Linked DNA regions of Homo sapiens: all the other regions are linked to region 1. Evidence: promoter capture Hi-C in 16 types of primary human blood cells and fetal thymus (Javierre and others, 2016). All regions are on one chromosome and are shown on one strand. Each heading gives the region's core, a stretch centred on a gene start or on the middle of the fragment in contact. The rest is flanking DNA. Distances are from core to core; before and after follow the strand shown.

Evidence for each region. Contacts are between HindIII fragments. The CHiCAGO score rates a contact against its expected background, and 5 or more counts as called.
Region 2: a contact is called between a fragment that was not itself captured here and the fragment with the promoter of CA5A in region 1, in 2 of 17 cell types (total B cells and erythroblasts). The highest score is 6.1, in total B cells.
Region 3: a contact is called between the fragment with the promoter of MAP1LC3B here and the fragment with the promoter of CA5A in region 1, in 2 of 17 cell types (fetal thymus and naive CD4 T cells). The highest score is 8.2, in fetal thymus.
Region 4: the fragment with the promoter of ZFPM1 here is called in contact with the fragment with the promoter of CA5A in region 1 in 2 of 17 cell types (naive B cells and total B cells); the score reaches 7.1 in naive B cells.

What each region holds. Positions count from the first base shown.
Region 1 is chr16:87,933,480-87,938,645 of GRCh38, reverse strand. CA5A (carbonic anhydrase 5A) reads left to right here and starts at 2,117. Exons shown (of 7, transcript NM_001739.2): 1 at 2,117-2,337. The coding sequence starts at 2,196. The HindIII fragment of the contact is 28,449 bases long and covers 1-5,166 here.
Region 2 is chr16:88,537,865-88,543,030 of GRCh38, reverse strand. No RefSeq gene overlaps it. Among named protein-coding and RNA genes, the nearest start is that of ZFPM1-AS1, 9.4 kb to the right of the region's middle. RefSeq lists an enhancer at 2,735-3,337. The HindIII fragment of the contact is 5,589 bases long and covers 86-5,166 here.
Region 3 is chr16:87,390,392-87,395,557 of GRCh38, reverse strand. It overlaps MAP1LC3B (microtubule associated protein 1 light chain 3 beta), which reads right to left and starts at 3,222. Exons shown (of 4, transcript NM_022818.5): 1 at 3,091-3,222. The coding sequence starts at 3,130. It also overlaps a transcript of FBXO31 not described here. RefSeq lists enhancers at 2,040-2,089, 3,306-4,264 and silencers at 2,710-2,839, 2,950-3,119, 3,140-3,789. The HindIII fragment of the contact is 5,617 bases long and covers 1-4,636 here.
Region 4 is chr16:88,451,025-88,456,190 of GRCh38, reverse strand. It overlaps ZFPM1 (zinc finger protein, FOG family member 1), which reads right to left and starts at 2,911. Exons shown (of 10, transcript NM_153813.3): 1 at 2,513-2,911. The coding sequence starts at 2,552. RefSeq lists silencers at 167-226, 1,907-1,976, 2,197-2,326, 2,787-2,876, 2,887-3,186 and 1 more. The HindIII fragment of the contact is 8,831 bases long and covers 1-5,166 here.

The sequences.
Region 1 (5,166 bases), core at 868-3,367:
GAGTGGGTCAATGAATGAATGACAATGAATCAGACTTCCCAAGAGTGGGTGCATTTCCACCATGACTGTGTGGGAAGGAGAGAACATATCATCCAGACTTGGTTTTTGTTGCTCAAAACAAATGCAAGCAAACTCTTGGGCCCACCAGAGCAGTGGCCGAAAGCCGCAGACCCTATCCATTGTGTGGGGGATTTCAGTGGGATTCTTGGGCTTTCAGGAGCCTACAAGTGGACTCGCATTTCAACACCTGTGTTCTGTAGGGTTTTCTAGATCTAAGATTCCAGGATTCTATGAAAAGTTATGATAGCCCTGCCCCCTAAAAGATTGTAAGTTTAAACAACAACAAGAAGTCACAAACTGGTGCATCCCAATCCCATGGGTTCCATTTCACAGGTAAAAGGTGTCTGGGTGAATAAACTGCTGTGCCGCTCAAAGGACCCAAAGGAAGGTTCTTTGTGGGTTGGCGTCTGCAAATATCACCAGCTGCCTGGCTAGAGTGACCAGCTAACATACCCATGTGGACCCTGGGCATGAAGGGAGGTACCAGGCCAGGGGCAGTGGCTCATGCCTGTAATCCGAGCACTTTGGGAGGCCACTCTGGGAGGATTGCTTGAGCCCAGGAGTTCAAGACCAGCCTGGGCAACATGGCGAGAACCTGCCTCTACAAATAATTTTTAAAATTAGCTGGACATAATGGCATGCACCTATAGTCCCAGCTACTTGGGAGGCTGAGGAGGGAGGATCACTTGAGCCTGGGTGATTGAGACTGCAGTGAGCCATGATGGCACCACCGCACTCCACCTTGGGTGACAGAGCAAGACCTCACCTCAAAAAAAAAAAAAAAAAGAAAGAAAGAAAGAAAGAAAGAAAGAAAGAAAAGAAAAGAGGCTGGACGCAGTGGCTCATGCCTGTAATCCTAGCACTTTAGGAGGCCGAGGTGGGTGGATTGCCTGAGCTCAGGAGTTCGAGACCAGCTTGGGGAACACAGTGAAACCCCGTCTCTACTAAAAATACAAAAAATTGGCCGTTGTGGTGGTGTGTGCCTATAATCCCAGCTACTCAGGAGGCTGAGACAGGAGAATTGCTTAAACCTGGGAGGCAAAGGTTGCAGTGAGGCAGGATCACGCCATTGCACTCCAGCCTGGGCAACAGAGCGAGACTCCATCTCAAAAAAAGAAAGAAAGAAAAGAAAAGAAACGAAGAAAAGAGGCTGGGCGTAGTGGCTCACACTTGTAATCCCAGCACTTTGGGAGGCCGAGGCAGGCAGATCACCTGAGGTCAGGAGTTCAACACCAGCCTGGCCAACGTGGTGAAACCCCATCTCTACTAAAAATACAAAAAATTAGCTGGGCATGGTGGTGGGCGCCTGTAATCCCAGCTACTCAGGAGGCTGAGGCAGGAGAATTGCTTGAACCTGGGAGGCAGAGGTAGCAGTGAGCCGAGATCACGCCATTGCACTCTAGCCTGGGCAACAGAAGTGAAACTCTGTCTAAAAAAAAAAAGAAAAGGAAAGAAAGAAAGGTGGCCCTGTTAATGTTTATGCCAAGACAGCAGGCATGACCTGGAAGTGTCCGAAGCCACAGGGCATCTTGCTTCCGGGGAGGATGAATGAATCAAATCGCACCTATTTTAAGGCAAGCAAGGACTCCATGACTTCAGGAGCCCTGGTGGGTGGACAGAAGCTCCCTGCTCCCCTGGCCTGTCTACCCAGCAGCGCTTTGGCCAGTCCCATTCCTGTACTTCTGAGCCTGCCTGCCAGTCCCTCCTCACATGCACACCATGGCTTTGTGCCTGGTATTGAGTGTCCCGGAGCCCCAAACCACACGGTCAACCCCATGAAAGAAACAGGGACTCTGCTCTCATCCACTCGCCCCCGCCTCCCGCGTAATCCCCTGGTGCTCACGCAGCCCCACCGTACAGTTTTTCTAGCTCCCTGGCAGACTTGTGCTCCTGTTTGCCAGATCAAAGCCCAGTGACCTGAGTGGCCTGTCCCCAGCAGAGGCCACTAATCCCTGTGGACCCACCCTGTTGGGAAAGGCATGGGTTGAACTTTAACCATTAGGCTCAGGGGTTGGGATGAGTTTCTACAAAAAGAGGTGGGTACACGCCAGTCCACAGTGGTCCTGATCAAAGTGAGAACAGACAGCAGGGAACATCACCCTCTTCAGACTGGAGTCAGTGGGAACAGACCCAAGATGTTGGGGAGGAACACTTGGAAGACCTCAGCTTTCTCCTTCTTGGTTGAGCAGATGTGGGCCCCTCTCTGGAGTCGTTCGATGAGGCCAGGGCGATGGTGTTCTCAGCGTTCCTGTGCATGGCAAACCAGCAATAACACTTGTAAGTAGAGCCTCAAATTTCCTAAGATGCGACTGGATCCTTGTCTTAGCTGATGGGGTCTTTCGAGAGGAGAGAGGAGAGACCGTCCCGAGCCAGATGGGTTCAGATTTCCACTCCGTTTTTTTTTTTTTTTTTTTAAGATGGCGTCTCGCTCTGTGGCCCAGGCTGGAGTACAGTGGCGTGATCTCAGCTCACCACAACCTCCACTTCCCGGGTTCAAGCGATTCTCCTGCCTCAGCTTCCTGAGTAGCTGGGACTATAGGTGCATGCCACCACTCCTGGCTAATTTTTCGTATTTTTAGTAGAGACAGGGTTTCACTGTGTTAGCCAGGTTGGTCTCGAACTCCTAACCTCGCGATCCGCCTGTCTCAGCCTCCCAAAGTGCTGGGATTGCAGGCATCAGCCACGGCGCCCGGCCCTCTTTTTTCTTTTTTTGATGAAGTTTTGCTCTTTTGCCCAGGCTAGAGTGCAATGGCATGATCTCGGCTCACTGCAACCTCTGCCCTCCAGGTTCAAGTGATTCTCCTGCCTCAGCCTCCAAAGTAACTGGGACTACAGGCACCCGCCACTGCACCCAGCTAATTTTTTGTATTTTGGTAGAGATGGGGTTTCACCATGTTGGCCAGGCTGGTCTCGAACTCCTGACCTCAGGTGATCCACCCACCTTGGCCTCCCAAAGTGCTAGGATTACAGGCGTGAGCCACCGCGCCTGGCCACACTCCGTTTCTCTTGTATTTGGTGACCTTGGGTGAATCATTTAGCCTCCGTTTCAGGGGTCCTGGGGAGGGCAAGATGCTGGGAGCAGGCGGGTAGTCCGTGTTCGCACGGGACACACTGGCACGACTCACCATCCAGACCCGGCGGAATGGGCTGCACTAACCAGTCACGATCGCTCCTAAACTCTTCGGCAGAGAACGCTTTCAAGCAAACCTGTAACAAATAAACCACTCAGCCAGCTCTGCCAAGAAACTGCCCCGTGCCAGCCCCTCCTGGCTTCATGGTCAGTGCCTTGTGACCTTGAACGAGGCCCTTCCTCTTTCTGGGTCTCAGGTGCTTCCTCCGTAGAATGAGAGCCTGCTTTGGCAGCTGCCAAGTTCTCTTCTAACTGAAATCTTCCATGCATTCCATGTTTGGGCCATTGAAAGAGCATGGGCTTAGGAGCCAGACCCCAGGCATGCAGTCCGACTGACGCTTGCTGAGGTGGAGCCTCGGCAGGTCTTCACCCCCAAGCCTCTGTGTCCTTATCTCGAGATGGGGGTGGCCAGACTTTCTCTCCAGGGCCATGGAAGGATGACACGATGCGTGTAGAAAGCCTGGCCCACCCCAGACTCTGAGTGAGCTACACTCATTCCTCCTGTTGGGGTCCACACCTGTGGACTGGAGTGCAGTGGTGCGATCTCGGCTCACTGCAGCCTCTGCCTCCTGGGTTCAAGCGATCCTCTTGACTCAGCCTCCCAAGTAGCTGGGACTACAGGCGTGTGCCACCACGCCCAACTAATTTCTGTATTTTTAGTAGAGATAGGATTTCGCCATGTTGGCCAGGCTGGTCTCAAACTCCCGACCTCAGGTGGTCTACCTGCCTCGGCCTCCTAAAGTGCTGGGATTACAGGCGTGAGCCACTGCACCCACCCCCCTTTTTTATTCTTAGTACGACCGTCAAGAGCGCTAGCCTGCCTAGATTGGAATCTTGGCCCCACTGCTCTATGGCTGTTGCCCCTCTGTGACTTTCCTTTATTTTTTGAGACTAATTTCTGTCTTGTTGCCCAGGCTGGAGCGCAGTGGTGCGATCTCCAGCTCACCGCAACCCCCACCTCCCAGGTTCAAGCAATTCTCCTGCCTCAGCCTCCCGAGTAGCTGGAATTACAGGCATGCGCCACCACATCCGGCTAATTTTGTATTTTTAGTAGATACAGGGATTCTCCATGTTGCTCAGGGTGGTCTTGAACTCCCAGCCTCAGGTGATCTGCCCGCCTCAGCCTCCCAAAGTGCTGGGATTGCAGGCGTGAGCCACCACGCCCAGCTGTCCCCTCTGTGACTTTCTTAACTTCCCCCAGCCTTGGTTTTGTCGTCTGTAACAGGGGGTTGATAATGGTGCTTACGGCACAGTGTCGTTGGGAGAAGGGTCCGAGGTGGGGCCTGCAAAGGCTGGGGACAGCACATGGCTCCAGGAAGCCCTTGCTAGACGCCAGCTGCTGCTGTTGCTAACACAGGCAGCGGTGGGTGCCCTGTGTCTATTTAAGCATTTCCCTGTCAGTGGGCAGCAGGTAGCATTCCATTTCTTACTGTGGCAACATGTCCTCTTACATCGTGTGCTAGAGAGAGTCATATTCTGTATCGGCACCTAAATCCATTTACACCATGGTCCTCAACCTGTTCCCAGTGAACAGAGGGCTCTGCCAAATCATTTCAGAGTTCCACAAAGAGCAGAATATTCTGCCAAGCAGAGAAGATTGGAACATCATAAGGAATTCATCCTTCTATGTCGGTGTTTTATTTATGGGCATTCTGAAGATTATTTCACTTGGAAAAAGAATATTGTTACTAAAAATTATTGAAAAATCACTGGTGGTTTGGCCTTGAGAGAAAAGTCAAAGAGTTACAAAACGCTCAGTGATAATTTTAGAACCAGGCATGGGGGCTCACACCTGTAATCCCAGCACTGTTTTGGGAGGCTGATGTGGGAGGACAGCTCAAGCACAGGAGTTCAAGATCAGCCTGGGCAACATAGCAAGAACCCATCTCTAAAAAAAAAAAAAAATTAAAAAATTAACTGGACATGGTGGCACACACCTATCATCCCAGCTACTTGGGAGGCTGAGGCAGGAGGAT
Region 2 (5,166 bases), core at 1,631-4,130, 600 kb before region 1:
TTCAAAGAATGAGAAAAGTGAACTGTCAAGCTGGATGGAGTGTCCAGCCAACTTCTCGTTCAAGAATTATGGCACAATAAAAGCTTTTCAGAGAAAACAGTAGCATAGTTTTGCCCAGTCAGGCCCTCATTAATGAACATTTACAGGATGCTATTAAGGAAGAAAGAACGCAACGCCAGGAGGTTGTGCTGGGATGGCTTGTGACCCAGCAATCTCCACCATCCATGGCCAGGCGGCATTTGAGGGGGCTGCACCTGCCCGCCAGGTGCACTGGAGCTGCCTATCCACCTGCTGCTGGCACCTGGTGCTTCCCATTCCCGCACCGCCCATCTGATTGGTGCCAGCCGCATCTCTTCATTTATAATTCGCCCTCCCTGACAATGTCTTCCCACCAGGCTCCTCCCTGTCTCCGGCCTTCCTGTGGGATGTGCAGACACTGGATCCCAAGCCAGGACTCGAAACTTCAAGCCCAGGCTCTGGAGACTTCCTTGCCACCTCCATGTTTGATTGTGGAAGGAAGGAGGGGCCAGCTCTCTGGCCCTTCCCAGCAGATGGCAGGAGGGACAAACTTGCTGGCTCTGTGCCCCTTCGGAGGCCCCAGTTGGCAGGGTCTAACGAGGAGTGCAGCCAGCTGGTTAATGGGGAGAACCTCGGGGGAGGTGACAGCAGCCACAGTGACAGTTGCCCAACAATCAATGTGCCCAGGCCAGGCAGGCTGGTGGGGGAGATGCATTGCAGGGGACATGAGAGCACAGCCCATAAGGACGGCCCCCAGCCTCTTGAGAGGCCCAAGCCTGCTTTCCATAGCCAGAGACCCTATTAGAGCCAAGGGCGGGCCACCCACATGCAGCCTCTGAGCTGTTCTGAGGTAGGAAACCAGCAGGACATTTCTGGTCACAACCTTGCTGACCAAAACGTGATCTGGTCCAGAAAGGATAAAGTAAGGAAAGCAGCAGGAACCAGCAGATGGCGAGGAAGGCGATCCCTAGCTGCCTCATTGTTCTCTGGCATAACACAGTCCCACCAGCCCCATGACAGTTTACAAACACCATGGCAACAGCCTGGACGTAACCTGCTTTACGTGGCAATGCTGGGGAAGTTATTGCCCCTTGCCTAGAAAGTCCTAAGTAACAGCCGGGCGCGGTGGCTCGTGCCTGTAATCCCAGCACTGTGGGAGGCTGAGGCAGGTGATCACCTGAGGTCAGGAATTCGAGACCAGCCTGACCAATATGGTGAAAACCTGTCTCTACTTAACATACAAAAATTAGCCGGGCGTGGTGGCAGGCTTCTGTAATCCCAGCTACTTGGGAGGCTGAGGCAGGAGAATCACTTGAACCCGGGAGATGGAGGTTGCAGTGAGCCAAGATCATGCCACTGCACTCCAGCCTGGGAGACAGAGGAAGACTCTGTCTCAAAACAAAACAAACAAAAAGAAAGTCCTAAGTAACCTGCTCCTCAATTTGCATTAACCCACCCTTTAATTTGCATGTAATTGAAGAGGGGTTTAAGTGGTTATAAATACAGTTGCCAAGAGCACTGTGGACTCTGGATGCACTGCCAGGGAGTTAGCCTTGCTCTGCAAGGAGTAAAATTGTTCAATAACAGACTGCTGCCGTCTAACACCCTGGCCTGCCCTTGAATTCTTTCCTGGCTAAGCCTCAATTGCGTGGCCCACCTGTCCTGCATCGGGAAGAGAATCAAGGCCACGTGCTGCCGGCTCACGGCAATAGCCGGGCGTGTGGGCCTTGGGTCTCTGCCTCAGGCTGGTGGCATACGCCCATGAGAGCATATGAGACCTTCTTTGAGCCATCAGCGGCCTCCTGGGGGGATCTGGGCTGTGCAGGAGGGGCCCAGAATTTCAGACTGGAGTTAGGGTGTGTGCCAGGCCTGCTCCAGCTTCTCCCGGCTGCTTGGGGTTTGGGGTTCAACACGGAGGACTCGGATTAGCCAGGACACCAAGGTCCTCTTCACCCTTCCCTGCCCCTTTCCGCCCCCCACCTGCACACGCCACACTCTCCTAGGCATTCCTTCAGCCTCAGCCCATGCCCTGCGTTCGAGGGTGGGGCTACTGCCCTCGCCACCCTGTTCACCAGGAGTGTCAGAGAAGGGGAGGGCCAAGTGTGCACTCCGCGCAGGGCAGGACACGGCCCTTGGGCAGAGATCTGGGTCCAGCTCTCTCCCTGCCCCGCCCCTGCCTCAGCTGACGAAGGCCTGGTGAGCAGGGCTGTGTGTGCTCCTGCTGGTGAGCTAGTGAGGTCGGCGCCCACGGTCTGGGCACCTGCTGTGAGTGCAGGTCTCACACGTGCCAGAGAGCAAACTGCTGGGAGCTGGTTAAATGCAGATTCCCAGGCCCTGGCCGGCAGGGAGGGAAGCAGCCAGACAGAAGCTGCTGCAGGTCTGTGGGCAGTGCTGGGGAGGCCTGGGGCTCTGAGGGGACAGAGGGGCTCTGAGGGTGCCAGATGGGGAGGCCGTGCTGGTGCGAGGGCCGCCGTGTGCAAGGCAGGGCTCAGGCTGTGTATTTCCCTTGCATCTTGGTGGTCACTCCTGTGACCCTGGGCAAGTCACCGTGCCTGGGAGCCCCCTGCTCCCTGCCCAAGGACAGCATCAGAGGATGTGCCTCCAGGGTCGTGTTGGAAGCAGCCTGGAACAGCCCTGTGAGGTTGGGATTCTGCCGGGTTCGCCACTCTCGCCAGGTCCAGGCCACCTGGCTGTCTGGTGGCCAAGCTCCTCCCGGGTGGCCAGTCACCTCCCCTGCTCCTTCCCTCGCTGTGGAAATGGATGCGCTTCCGAAAAGCTGCGAGACCTCCTGCTCTGCGCCTCCCTCCTCCATGCGTCCCGCCCTAACCCTAACCTCTGCCCGGAGCTCCCGACCCTCCCTGCCCCTGCCTGGCTCACCTCTGAGACACTCCCAGCCCGAGGTCCCGAGGCGAGTTCTGTCCACAGCTGCATGGTTTGCTCTTCTCTTCACCTCTCCCTGGCACCTCCAAGGAGGAGGGGGTTGGGTGTTGAGGGGGTGAGGCTGCCTCCTCCCAATCTTCCTCCCTCCCCCTCTGCAAGGCCCCGGCAGATACAGGGCAGGCCAGAGTGCAACGGCTTTGCTGCCTCCTGGCGTCCTGAGGCTCTGCCTGAGACTCCAAAGCTGGGCTCTCCCGAGGGGTCGGCTTGCGGGGGACAGGTGGGGACCGGTTTTCAGAGCAGACCCATCCGACGGTTGCCAGCTCACGCAGCCCCCCAGCCACAGGTGATGTCCTGCTCTGCATGTTGGTGTCCTGGTGTGGGAGACAGGGCCGGCAGTGGGGGCCCTCTCCACTCCCACCCTTCCTCAGGCAGGCTGGGGTGGGCTTCTGCTAGGCCTGAGCTTTCTGTAAGCCAGGGCGTGGCTGGGAGCCAGTGCCCAGCAGTACGGCTGGTGGTCGAGAACCGAGTGCTGGAAGCCAGCAGAGGGATGTGTCCTGGCCCAGCTGTGCCCGCCAGGTGCCTGGGCAGGAGGTGTGTCCCGATGGAACCTTGGGGCCCTCGTGCACAGTCAGGGCACTCAGCCCATGGTGTGGCTGAGAGGACAGACCCTGTGCCTGGCAGAGGAAGGGGCCTCAGGAGGGCGAGGCTGCCCTGCATCATCTCGTGGACGTTGTGTCCCAAGTAGCGTGAGGGACTCCCGGCAGGCTGGGCTGACCCTGCCTGGGAGTTGCCAGCCTGCAAGGGGCTTTGAGCTGTATGCAGCTCAGGTAGAAGGGAGCAGGTGCCCTCCTGGAAGAAGGAGGGTGGAGGCGGGAGGCCCATCCTGTGCAGGGCAGGGGACGGGTACAGCCTGGCTGGGTGGCCCTGAGGGGGACCTTTTAAGCCAGTCTTGAGGAGAGAAGGAGTTTCACAGGCAAAGCTGGGGGGAGTGGGGAGGGGGGAGGAGTGGGGAGAGAGCAGCTTGGAATGCAGCGGTCCGAGATCCAAGAAGCTCAGGTCACACATGGGACTCAGTGGACAGTGTGATTGGAGAGTGGGCTGTGACGGTGGCCGTGTGCCATGAGTGGACAGTGTGGCTGGAAAGTGGGCTGTGACAGTTGGACTGACTGCTGGGCATGGGGAGGGGCTGGCTGTGGTCCACACACACCCCTGTGACTTCAACAGATGCAGACCCCTCCTCTGTGTCGGCCACTTGTGGGTGCCTGGGAGGCAGAGGTCAAGCAGGCGCAGCCCCAGCTTTCAAAGGAGACAGGCCAGTAGGCGACGGGCAAGAGGACAGAGATGCAGAGTGACCGTTCCTACGTGGGAGTGAGCTGGGGACAGAGGTGCAGAGTGACCATTCCTACACGGGAGCGAGCTGGGGACAGAGGTGCAGAGTGACCGTTCCTACGCGGGAAGTGAGCCAGGGACAGGTCTGAGGGGGCACCTAAGCTGAGAGCTGGATGACAAGGACAGCCTCGGAGGAGTAGAGAGGGCATCAGGAGGCACTGCCTGGAGCAACCAGCTGCAGCATGGAGCCCAGCGGGTGGTGGGCTTAGCAGGGCCAGGGGCTGCCGTCGGGACAGGCCGCCAACGGGAGGCTCCTCTCCTCTGTGCTGAGGCAGAGAAGGGGGACTTCTGACCTCTGAAGGATGGGGCCAGTAACAGAAGGGGTTTTACGCGAAGCACAGGCACCTGGGGGCGGGGACGGGCCTCAGAGCAGGGTGAGCCTGGGAGAGGGGAGCGGTGGCAGCTGTGTGAGGAGTGGACCCTCGAGATTTGGAAGCGGCTGTTCAGAGAGACTCAAGGGTGAAGTCCCAGGTCTGGGAGTCGGCGATGGTGGATGGGTTTGGGAAGCGGTGGGATTTGGACAAATCAAGCATTGCTTTGACAATGAAGGGTGAATAGGCAAGGCTGATGCTCTCCAGCTTGAGGGGCAGGGGGCCACTGAGGATGCCTATGCAGGTGAGGGGAGGAGACAGGTGGGCTGGTGGGGAGACAGGTGGGCTCGGGGTGATGCCTGTGCAGGTGAGGGGAGGAGACAGTGAGCCAGGGGGGTGCTTGCACTGGTGTGGGGAGACAGGTGGGCTTGGGGGAGGGGAACACCTGCACAGGTGTGGGCAGAAGTTACAGGTGCGTGGGGTTACAGTCACTCATGGTACATCAAGGGCCTGGAAGGACACAGGGGCTGTAGGTCTGCAGGTCTGGGGCTCAGGGGAGGCGTGGCTA
Region 3 (5,166 bases), core at 1,973-4,472, 540 kb after region 1:
CAGGAGACAGCTGTTTTAGAGGCTAACAGTATATTTAACAAAAGCATTATCAACAGCACAGTCAATGGCATAGAAGGAGGGCAAGTCTTTTACTCCCTGTTTCCTAATGCTGTAATCATCTGTTTTTGTCTTTCTCAACAGACTGCCCCGCTGGCAGTCAAGGACCCAGCTCCAGTCCAATCTGTGTCCCCCCAGGGCTCAGGCTTGTACACAGAAGAGAGTTCATCAACAACTGAATGAAAGCTGTAAAACAGAAATGAACACGGCTCCACATGCACAGCAAAATCTAACCTGCTTCCCCAGATTCCTTTCTTCTAAAACAAAAAAGATCCTTAAGAGCCTTTACAAACATTAAAACAAACGGTAGGAGCCTAAGGTGTCCTATTTTTAAGAACACGTTCTTTGCAAAGTTGTTTTGAGATATCTTCAGTCATTTTAAGTAAAATTTCAGTTTTTCCAGGATTTTCCAGGATTTACTTCTCAGAGAGAAACTGAAGCACTCCCCCTCCCCCAGGCCAGGCGTGGTGGCTCACACCTGTAATCCCAGGACTTTGGGAAACCAAGGTGGGAGGATCACTTGAGGCCAATAGTTAAAGCTGGCCTGGGCCACACAGCAACAACTCTTATTTGTCTGTTTGGTTTCTTTTTTTGGTAGAGATGAGCTCTCACTATGTTGCCCAGGCTGGTCTTGAACTCCCAAACTCAAGCGATCCTGCCTTGGCCTCCCAAAGTGCTGGGATTACAGGTGTGAGCCACCATGCCCCACACAATTTTAATTTTTGAAGTTCATTCAATATTTCCAACACATCTCCAAGGACACACTATGTCTCCTGACTCACACAGTCTTGGTCCACTTAATATACTGGAAATGATGGCTACCTACTGGAGACTGGAAGAATTCATGCCAGGTTAAAGGTACCAGTCCAGACTCTGCCACTAGGTGGACCATGATCTTCACCACCAGGCCCCACCCAGTTTCTTTAGCTACAAAAGGAAGGCGTTGTTTTCAGTGAGCCTTAAAATCCATTTCAACTTTGAGAACCCTGTCAATCCTGGTAGAGTTTATCAGCAGAGCTATATTCAGTATTAACCTTAAACTCACTCACTTGGAAAGAGAAAACACCACTCAAGCTAACTGGGGCTTATCTTAGGCTCCATAAAGAGGTTCTCTCTAAGGATTCATTTCCCTCACTTACTGTGCTACACATGTCTGAAAACTGTCAGTACTCATGATCAACATTACCAAAATATTCATGAACTAGAAAGATTTTTTTTTTTAATTACCAAAATCAGAAGCAAGGAAAGGTAACAGCTGTTAAGATATTTGACACATTTCTACAAAGTGACTATTAAAGAGATATTTAAAGGGGAGGGGGCAAAATAAAGGTGAGCCAAGGGAAAAAACCCTGAAAATACAGTATATACAAGGTCCATACATCAATGGGAAAAAAATGGGGCATTATTGCTGGTCTACCCTCAGGGCCACTTTTAGGTTCCAGGAAATTCCTTGTTCGGATGTGTTAGTCTCACATTTCCTACCCTTACTACCCACTCTTCGCAGAGACTTTTCCAGAATAACCCAAAAGTACTAAGCAAAAAAGAAAATAACTATAGTTTCTGTTATGAGAAAAAGGGCATCTCTCCTACATAAATGTTCCCAGTTAACTTTTCATTGGTGAAAACAGAAGCCAGGTCTGAGGGGGGCCGCTGGATCGCTTTAGCCCGGGAGGTCGAGGCTGCAGTGGGCTGTGATTGCACCACTGCACTCCAGCCCAGGTGACAGAGTGAGACCCTGTCTCAAAATAAAAAAGAAAAGAAAATCTGTCTTTAATGCTGCTCTCAGGGCTCAATAAGCCTAGACACTACAGTAAAGAGTTCATTAAGGTGACTAACAAGAAAACTACTAACAAAAAAGGCACGTGTAAGTCTTGCTAACCAACGGACTGCCTCAAGAGGCTGTCTGAAAAGATATGCTTGGCAAGCTAAGGTCCATTTTAATTTGCTTAAGTTTCTCAGGCATAAGAAAAAAAATAATGGTCAATGAGACCTGCAAAACTATATCCAAACTCAAATGAATGCTAAACTCTTTCTAGACTCCGGGAAACTAGGCAAAAGCAGACAAACAGCACCACTGTGTGGGCTCCTGACGAGGATGGCGGCAGGCATTCGCAGTCCACCGCGATGAACACGGTGCTTCCCTTCCAAACCGGTGTCTGGAACTTAGGCAACAACAGATACCTGGATCTGCGGCGTTCTCTTGCTCAAGCGGGAAATAATCACTTCGCATCATCTGCGTGGAGTAAATATTGTGATGGTGACACCTGCACGTTTAACCAAATGCCAGCACACCTAAGCTGGGTTTCCAGTCTGAACCGGCAGAAAAGGGATGTATTCGGTATTCCTGGTGCCAAGGTGAGAACGTAATCGCAAACCCAAGAGAAGTCTCCCACCCCAGCTCCTGGGCTACAGACAGGAACTGGCAACACCGCTGTGGGCCGTCCCGGGCGCGGCGAGGCCGGGGCCCAGCACATTCCCCTCCTCTCGACCGAGGCACTGAGGTCTGTAAGAGGCACTCGCACCCGGGCGGGCTCCCTCGACGGGAAAACCAGCCCTGAAGGTGACGCGCTGGGTCCCGGCGCAGCCCCGCTTCAGAGCCGAACGGCCCAGCGCGGCCCCGGGGGCTGTTGGGCCCCAGAAGCGCGACCCTCGCCCGCAGCGCGCTTGCGGGGGCGGCGGTGGCCGGGGTACGGCAGGCACCCCGCCGCGGAGGGCGCGGGGTGATTCAGCAGGCCCGGGGCCCCGAGCGCACCGGCCCCCGCCCGCCCTCCGCCGGCTGCCTCCTCCCAGGCCTCCGAGAGGTCCGCAGGCCGCCCCGGCCCAGACCAGCCCCTGGCCCTCCCGGCTCGGTCCCGGCCTGGGTCCCTCACGGGGCCCCGGGCCCCGCATCCCTCGGCCCCGCCGGCCGGCAGCCACCGGCCCCGCTCGGCCTCCCGGCTCGGCCCCGACCCCTCACGGCGTCCCAGGCCCTGCCGCCCTCCACAGCTCGGACCCCGGCCCCGCCGCACCCGCCGCCCTCGCGGCGACACTCACCGAAGGTGCGGCGCTGCTTGAAGGTCTTCTCCGACGGCATGGTGCAGGGATCTGGGCGGCGGCGGCGGCGACGACGCGAGGGTCCCGGCGGCTCCCGGGGGCGGCGGCTGCTGCGGCGGCGAATCCGACTCTGGCGATAGCCACTTCCCTTGTATCTCCTCAGCCCGCAGCCTGGTCAGGTGACTCGCGACGCGTCACCGAGGGGCGGGGCCAGAGCCGGCCGGGGCCGCCGCCATGACGGGCGTGGCGGAACCCAGCAGCGGCACGCAGCGTGGGGGCGGAGCAGGTGTGTGCGCGTGCGCGATGGGCGAAACGCGCGCTCTGCGCATGCTCCCGGTCGTGCCCCAGCCCCGCCCAGCACCGCTGGGCGCCTGAGGCCCCTGAGGTGACGGTTGTGGGCTGGGCCGCACCCCGGGTCTGTGGGCGCTCGGGAGCCTGCTGCCCGGCCCTGAGGAGATGGCAGCGCGGGGCGGGGGAGGCTGAGCCACAGGCGGGGTGTCCCGGGGCACTCTTGAGGGAGGGGTCAGAGGAAGGGACATGGGGCAAATCCGACCATCCTTTCCCCTCCAGAGAGACTTGGTGGTGCTGCCCGAGACGCCGGCACCCGGGGCTGAGGCGCGCAGGGCAGGCCGCGCCGTCTCCGGGAGGCAGGGTCGCCGCTCGCCCGTGGAGCCCTGGCCCCCTCTGCGTGCAGGGGCGCGCGTGGTCCGTGGGTGGCTTCCGGGGAGTGGCCGCTGGTGACCTCCGCCCGCGGTCACTCGACGCCCAGCCTTGGCGCGTTTGCGCAACTGCTTTTGTCCCGAGCCTTCATTCTGGGCGCAGTCCCCTCTCCCAGTCCCCCTGCCGCGGCGCCTGGAACTCTCCTGGTGGCTGTAAGATTTTCCTACCGTTAGGTCGTCTGTGGCGACTGCCAGGCCTGCCCCACATCGCTAGCCGCCCTGTCTACCCCTCAGCCTCCCAGCCACTAAACTCGCTGGACAACCTTACGCTAGTGACAGTTTTTGAGTCTCAGACTCATCTGTGAAAGGGCAGTCATATTTGAGGACTCCAAATGGGCTGCAGTGCGTAAACCACCATGCGATATTTGGTTGCTATTGCCCACCTCAGCCTGTGGCCAATGTGTCTCTGTAGGAACAGCACTAGATTCTTTGGGGTTTTTTTGAGACAGGGTCTTGCTCTGTTGCCCAGCCTGGAATGCAGTGGCACGATCATAGCTCGCGGCGGCCTCGGTCGCCTGGGCTCAAGGGATCCTCCTGCCTCAGCCTCCCGAGAAGCTGGGAGTAGAGCCGGGATCTCGCTGTGTTGCCCGGGCTGGTCTTGAACTCCTGGCCTCAAGCAACCCTCCCGCCTCGGCCTCCTTAAGAGTTGGGATTACAGGCGTGAGCCACTGCTCCCGGCTATTTGGCTGTTTTTGTTCTTTAACATCTAATACTTTGAAAGAGCCCCATAGTTCCAGGATTTCTCCTTTTGACTTTGTAAAAGCCTTTCTTCTATCCCAATTGGATAAAGTAATTGGATTAGGCTAATACACTCTACACTGTAAGCTTGAATCATACAAAACATGAAAATAGCGGGGGGCGGTGGCTCCAAGCCTGTAAACCCAGCTCTCAGGGAGGCAGAGGCTGGGAGGATCGCTTGAGCCCAGGAGTTTGAGACCTGACTGGGCAACATAGCAAGACCCCGTCCTCCACAAAAAAGAAGAAAAAAAGTATGAAAATATATTTCTCGCGCCAGGTGCGGCGACTCATGCCTGTAATTCCAGCACTTTGGGAGGTCAAGGCAGGAGGATCACGAGGTCAAGAGTTCGAGACCAGCCTGGTCAACATGGCGAAACCCCCATCTCTACTAAAAATACAAAAATTAGCCGGGTGTGGTGGCAGGCGCCTGTAATCCCAGCTACTCGGGAGGCTGAGGCAGGAGAATCGCTTGAAACCGGAAGGCAGAGGTTGCAGCGAGCCAAGATCCTGCCACTGCACTCCAGCCTGGGGGAAAGAGCGAAACTCCATCTCAAAAAAAAAAAGAAAGAAAATATATTTCTCAAAGTGCTTTTATACAGTTGGGATTTCTTCTAGAGAA
Region 4 (5,166 bases), core at 1,662-4,161, 520 kb before region 1:
CGGACTGTACCACCGGCCACAGGGGAGGATCAACTTCTTGGCAATTAAGTGTGTTTGGGGAGAAAACTCCCCCAGACAGACCAGCGCAGGGACGCCGGCTCCCCGGCCCCAACCCGGGCCGTTCCAAGCCCCCACTCGCCCCAGTCGCGGCGCCCCCGCGCTGTTCTCCAACCCGGCCGGGCCTGGTGGCCAAAGATAAGGCCTCTTATCGCTCTTGGCGATCGCCATCGGGCCGACCGGCCAGGCTCTTATCGGAGCTCACATCGACTCGGGCGGGAGGAAAACCCAGCGGGCTGGGGGCGCCGGGGGTCCCGAGCTGCCCCGGCCCCGCGCTCCCCGTCGGCAGCCCGGCCTATCGCCTCCGCCATCTGGCCGGCCAAGGCCGCGCTCCCGCCTCGCCCTGCCCCCGCTCCCACGTTTGAAGTTAATAAATGGAAGCGCCTATCTCAGCCACCATCGGTTGCGCGCCTTATCAGCGCGGCACATCTATCTCCGCACGGAACAAAAGGCGCACAGAGGCGCGGGCAGCTGCGCCAGGGCTTTGATGGGGGCGCGGGTGGGGGGTGGGCGGCCCGAAGCGCTCGGCCCCCTCCGCTCTGCACTCGCGGCCCGGCCGCAGGTGAGGCCAGGGCAGCGGGCAGGCACAGGCGCTGGCAAGAGGGCGGGCGGGCGGGCGCCGCCGCTTGGTGACAATCAGCCTTCGCATCTTAACGTGCTGAGATCTGCCATGGGGAGGAGGCGCCCCGGGCCGCGAGCGACAGGGAGGGTCCGCGGCCCTGCCTTCCTCGTCCGGGCCCTTTCTCTGCCCCGGTCCCGGGCCGCAACGAGGATGGGCCGCGGTGGCTCACCGTGCACCCGCCGCGGTCCCAGTTCCCAAAGTGCGCGCGCTCTGCCCGCCCCGCTGGGCTGGGCTACGGGCTCTCGCTGGCGCTGGCGGCCTTATCAGCGCTGGAGATCGGTTTCCAACCTGCGATCTCCCTGTCCGAGCTATCTGCATTTCTCATCACAGTGAAACACCACACACACACACACACACACACACACACACACACACACACCCCAGAACCGAACATAGGCGCTCAGGGAAGGAAGGAAAAAGAAACCAGAGCACAAGCGCGGATCGGGACCTGTGGGTGGCTTTTAATACTTGAGTTGACACGATAGAAGGCGACTTTCGGAAAACAGGTCCCGTTTGCGCTGAGGGAGTTGGGTTACGGGAACCGGTTCATGCCTGTGACCCCCGCCTCGGGAGACCTCCTGAGTAGGGAAGCTCCCACAGGCCCCGCACAAGGGGTCCTGGTGGCAGTGGTCGTGTGGACAAAGGAGGTAGTGCCCGGGCGCCTACGGCTGGGCAGCGGGCGGGTTTCCGTCGTGGCCTCCTGGCAGGGCTCAGACGACCTGCCCGTCAGGCTCCGGGGAGGCGCCCCGGGGAGGAAGACCTGCGTCTGGGCCCTAACTGTGAGGCGCAAAGTTATTATTGGCATAGGGTGGGGAGGGTAGCTTCCTGTGCTCTTGCTCCCTCCTGGCACAGCCCAGAGGCCCAGGCCAGACAGTGGCCCCGACAGCTTAGTTCTCATCGCGGGGGCACTGGCAATGTGGCGGCGGGGCAGCAGCCTCTGACCGGGCAGGGAGCCGGACCAGCGAGAAACTTAGTGGCGTGCAGGGGCGACCCCGGCCCGGGGCTGCGTCCTGGGAGGCCCTTCTCTGACTCAGAGCAGCCCATTGGGATGCCAGGGGGTGCCCGCGGGCATCCGAGGGCACCATTTGTTGCCCATGCCGCCTTGGCTGGGACACTTGCAGGGTCCAGGAGGTGTCACCAGGCTGGCGGGGCCTGGGTTCAGGACTTCAGCGCTAGGGCACGGGGTGGGGGTGTCTGGGGGGCTGGAGCCAAGTGCCTAGGCTGCGGCAGCTGCGCGCTACCCCCTCCCCTGTCCTGCGGCTCTGCGACGGCACCGGTGGGGGTGGGCGCGGGCCGGTGCCTGCCACTTGGCCAGGCATCTCCGCGGCCCCGGGTGTCCCCTCTGCCTCCCAGGTCTCTCTCTTCGCTTCTAGATACAAAGCCTGGGAGAGTCAACCGCGCGAGATAAGATCACAATTTCAGCCCGTCCCGACAGAACGATCTTATCAGGACGGGACTTGCAGAATGTAATATTTTAAACTTTATCTGAGCCCAGATCGGGGCCGCCCTATCGCCGCACCATCTCGCAGATGCGGGGGAGGGGCAGGCCGCGAGGGGCCGAGCTGCCCGGGCCGCGCCCCCAAACACCCTCCTCCCGGCCTCCGGGCGGCCCCCTCCTGGGCTGAACCCCCCGGTGCCCAAGCCGAGACGCGGGGGCCCAGGCCGCCGGCGGAGATTAGATTACGGCGCGCTTGGCACAGCGCGGGGGGCGCGGCGCGGGGTGAAGGTCGCCGGCGCCCAGGGCAGAGCGGGGACGGGCGGGGGCGGCGCTGGCGGCTGGGCTCCGGCGGGGGTCGGGCGCGCGGAGGGGACCGCGGGCAAAGTTTGACTCACGCTTGATCTGCCGGGGGTTGCTCTGTTTCCGCCTGGACATGTCTCCGGCGCCGCGCGCCCTCCCGGCGGCCGCCTCTAGCCCCGGGCGGGCGGCGGCGGGCGGCGGGGGCGCGGCGGGGCCGCGGGGCCGCTCATGCCCCCGGCCCCCGGTCTCCGCGGCCGCCCCGGCCCGCGCCCCCAGCCCGCGCGCCCAGCCCCGGAGCCGCTGGAGCTGCCGCGGAGGCCCGAGAGGCCACGGTCCTGCGTTGCGGGCGCGCGGACTGCCCGACGGGCGGGTGCCGGCTCCTCCGCTCCCGCGCACTCGCCGCCGCCGCCGCGGCCGCTCGGCTTTTCTCAATGGAACCCGCGGGCGGCGAGCGGCGGAGCAGGCGGCCACTGCGAGGGCGCTCCTGGCGGGCTGGAGGCACGGGGCGGGGCCGGGCCTGAGCGTCGTCGGCCGCCGCACCTCCCGCCCCGCCCCCGGCGCTCCGGCCCCGCCCCGTGCCTCCTGCCGGGCCCTGCACCTCTCCGGCTCCGCCCCCAGCGCCGCGGCCACGCCCCCGCCAGCCCGGCTCTTCGTTGCTCTGGCTCCGCCCCCAGAGCCGCGACCGCGCCCCCGCCCGCCTCGCTCTTTACGGCGCTGGCTCCGACCCCAGCGCTGCGGCCCCGCCCCTGTCCGTCTGGGCCTTCAAGGCACTGTCCCCGCCCCGCTCGATGCCCCGCCCCTTCCTGGTTCGGCCCCGCCCGCGCCCCGGGGAGACCTCTAGCCTCCCCCACTCCTCTTTGGCCCGGAGGTCATGTCCCCAGGCCGCGCTGGGAGTCTGAGACCTATTCGGTTCTGTTCTGCTGCCCCGCGGCACCGCATCCTGCGCCCCGCCTCTCGGCGCCAGCTCCGCCTCCAAACCTGACCCGACCTGGTTGGGTCCTGAGACGCCGAGGCTCCGCCCCCGCACTGTAACTCCGCCCCCAGCCCTTGGTCCCTCCCTAGACCCCTGGGCTCTGCCGCACGCTCCACGTGCGCGGTGGGGGCAGTGACAACCGGCTCAGGAAGCCCGAGGCCTTGACGCCCACGTTTCTCTTGGGCCAGACTTGGGGTGTGGAGCGGATTCGGGCCAGGGAGGGGGCTTCCGTCCCAGACTGCGGTGGGGTCCGCCAACTGAGAGCAGGATCTCGGGTCTTCCCCTGTGAGCTCAGACCAGGCTGGAAATCGAGGAGGGGGCGCGGGAGCCGGCAGCCCTGGGCGTTGCCACTTGGGGCCTCTTTCCTCACCGAGCCTCTCCAGGGCGCCCCGCAGGAGACCCACGAAGGAGTTGCCCACAGCGCCCGGGCCACAGCCCCCTCTCGGAGCAGTCAGAGGTCAGCGAGGTTTGTGGGCGCGGTGCTGTCAGCTCAGGCCTGGAAATGGAGAACTGTTGCCCTCTGGGGTGTGTTCAAGAGCCCCACTTCACGGAGGCTCGGGGACTTGCTCAAGGTCACGCATTGGGGGGCTGTCCCCCACTCCCAGCTGAGTTGTATCATCTCCTTTTAATGTTCTCGGTCTACACTTGCTACCTGCTCCCCCATCCCCCGTACTCATAAGAAACGGGCGTCAGTGGGCCCAGGGGCAGACAGGAAGGACCCCTCCCACCTGATGATGAGATCATCGCACAGCAGGACTGTCACACCACCCGCCAGCCTGCTGGGAGCTCCTAAGACCCCATCTCGTGCCAACTTCTGTGACCTATTCCCTGGCTCCAAGGAAGGGGAGAAGTGGGGGCTTACCCTCAGAGCCTGGTACAGGAGAGTGGCGGGTGGGTAGGAGAGGCAGGGGTACAACACTGGATATGCGCCGTCCCTCCCCACTGCCATGGACAGACAGGAACACTGAGACCAGGAGGCCAAGAGAGCTGCCCAGGGGCATACGGGTCCTCCAGCCCTTCCTGCTCTCTGCCAGGGTCCAGTGGGCACAGCCTTCCCACAGCTGCTCTCTGGAGGGGGTGGGGCCCATGTCTGATTGGTTCACTCAACCTAGGACCTCCCCCCCACCCTCCCGCCCCCACCCAGTGCTTGTCAACTGGATGGAGCACCTACCTGTCTGGGTTTCCCACCAGGCCTCGCCTCCTTCCCCAAAGAAGTCCACTTTAGAGTATGTGGACCTGTGAGTTAGGGGAGTTCCTGGAGGAGGTGGCCATGGGCTGGCACCTGGGCTGGGTCTGAAGCTCCACGCACAGCAAGTGGCACCCAGGCTGGCGCTGCTGGAACGGGCGGAGATCTGTGTTGAGGTGGATTCCGAGGGTCAACAGGAGACAGCCATGATCATCCATGATTGATGTCTGTCTAGGCTGCAGGAGGAGACGATGGGGATCATTTTGGCTGCTGCTTTGCCTGATCTGATTTATTTCTATGAGCCCATATATAGATGAAAACATGGAGGGACATGCCCAGGGAAGCCAGCGAAGGGGGCAGGCGGCAGGTCCAGACCACAGCCTGCTGCCCTGCCTCCATCACTTGCAAGGCCCCATGCAAAATGAAAATATGAAAATGTGGAGCCCCCTTGATCAAAACCCCCAAACCCCAAAACCCCAGGGCATCAAGGGCAGGATGTTGAGCCCGGTGTGGTGCCCTTCCCAGCTCGGGCCCTGTGCCCCTGCACCGGTCACAGGTCCCCTAACCCTGCCAGGGCTGCTTTTGTAGCA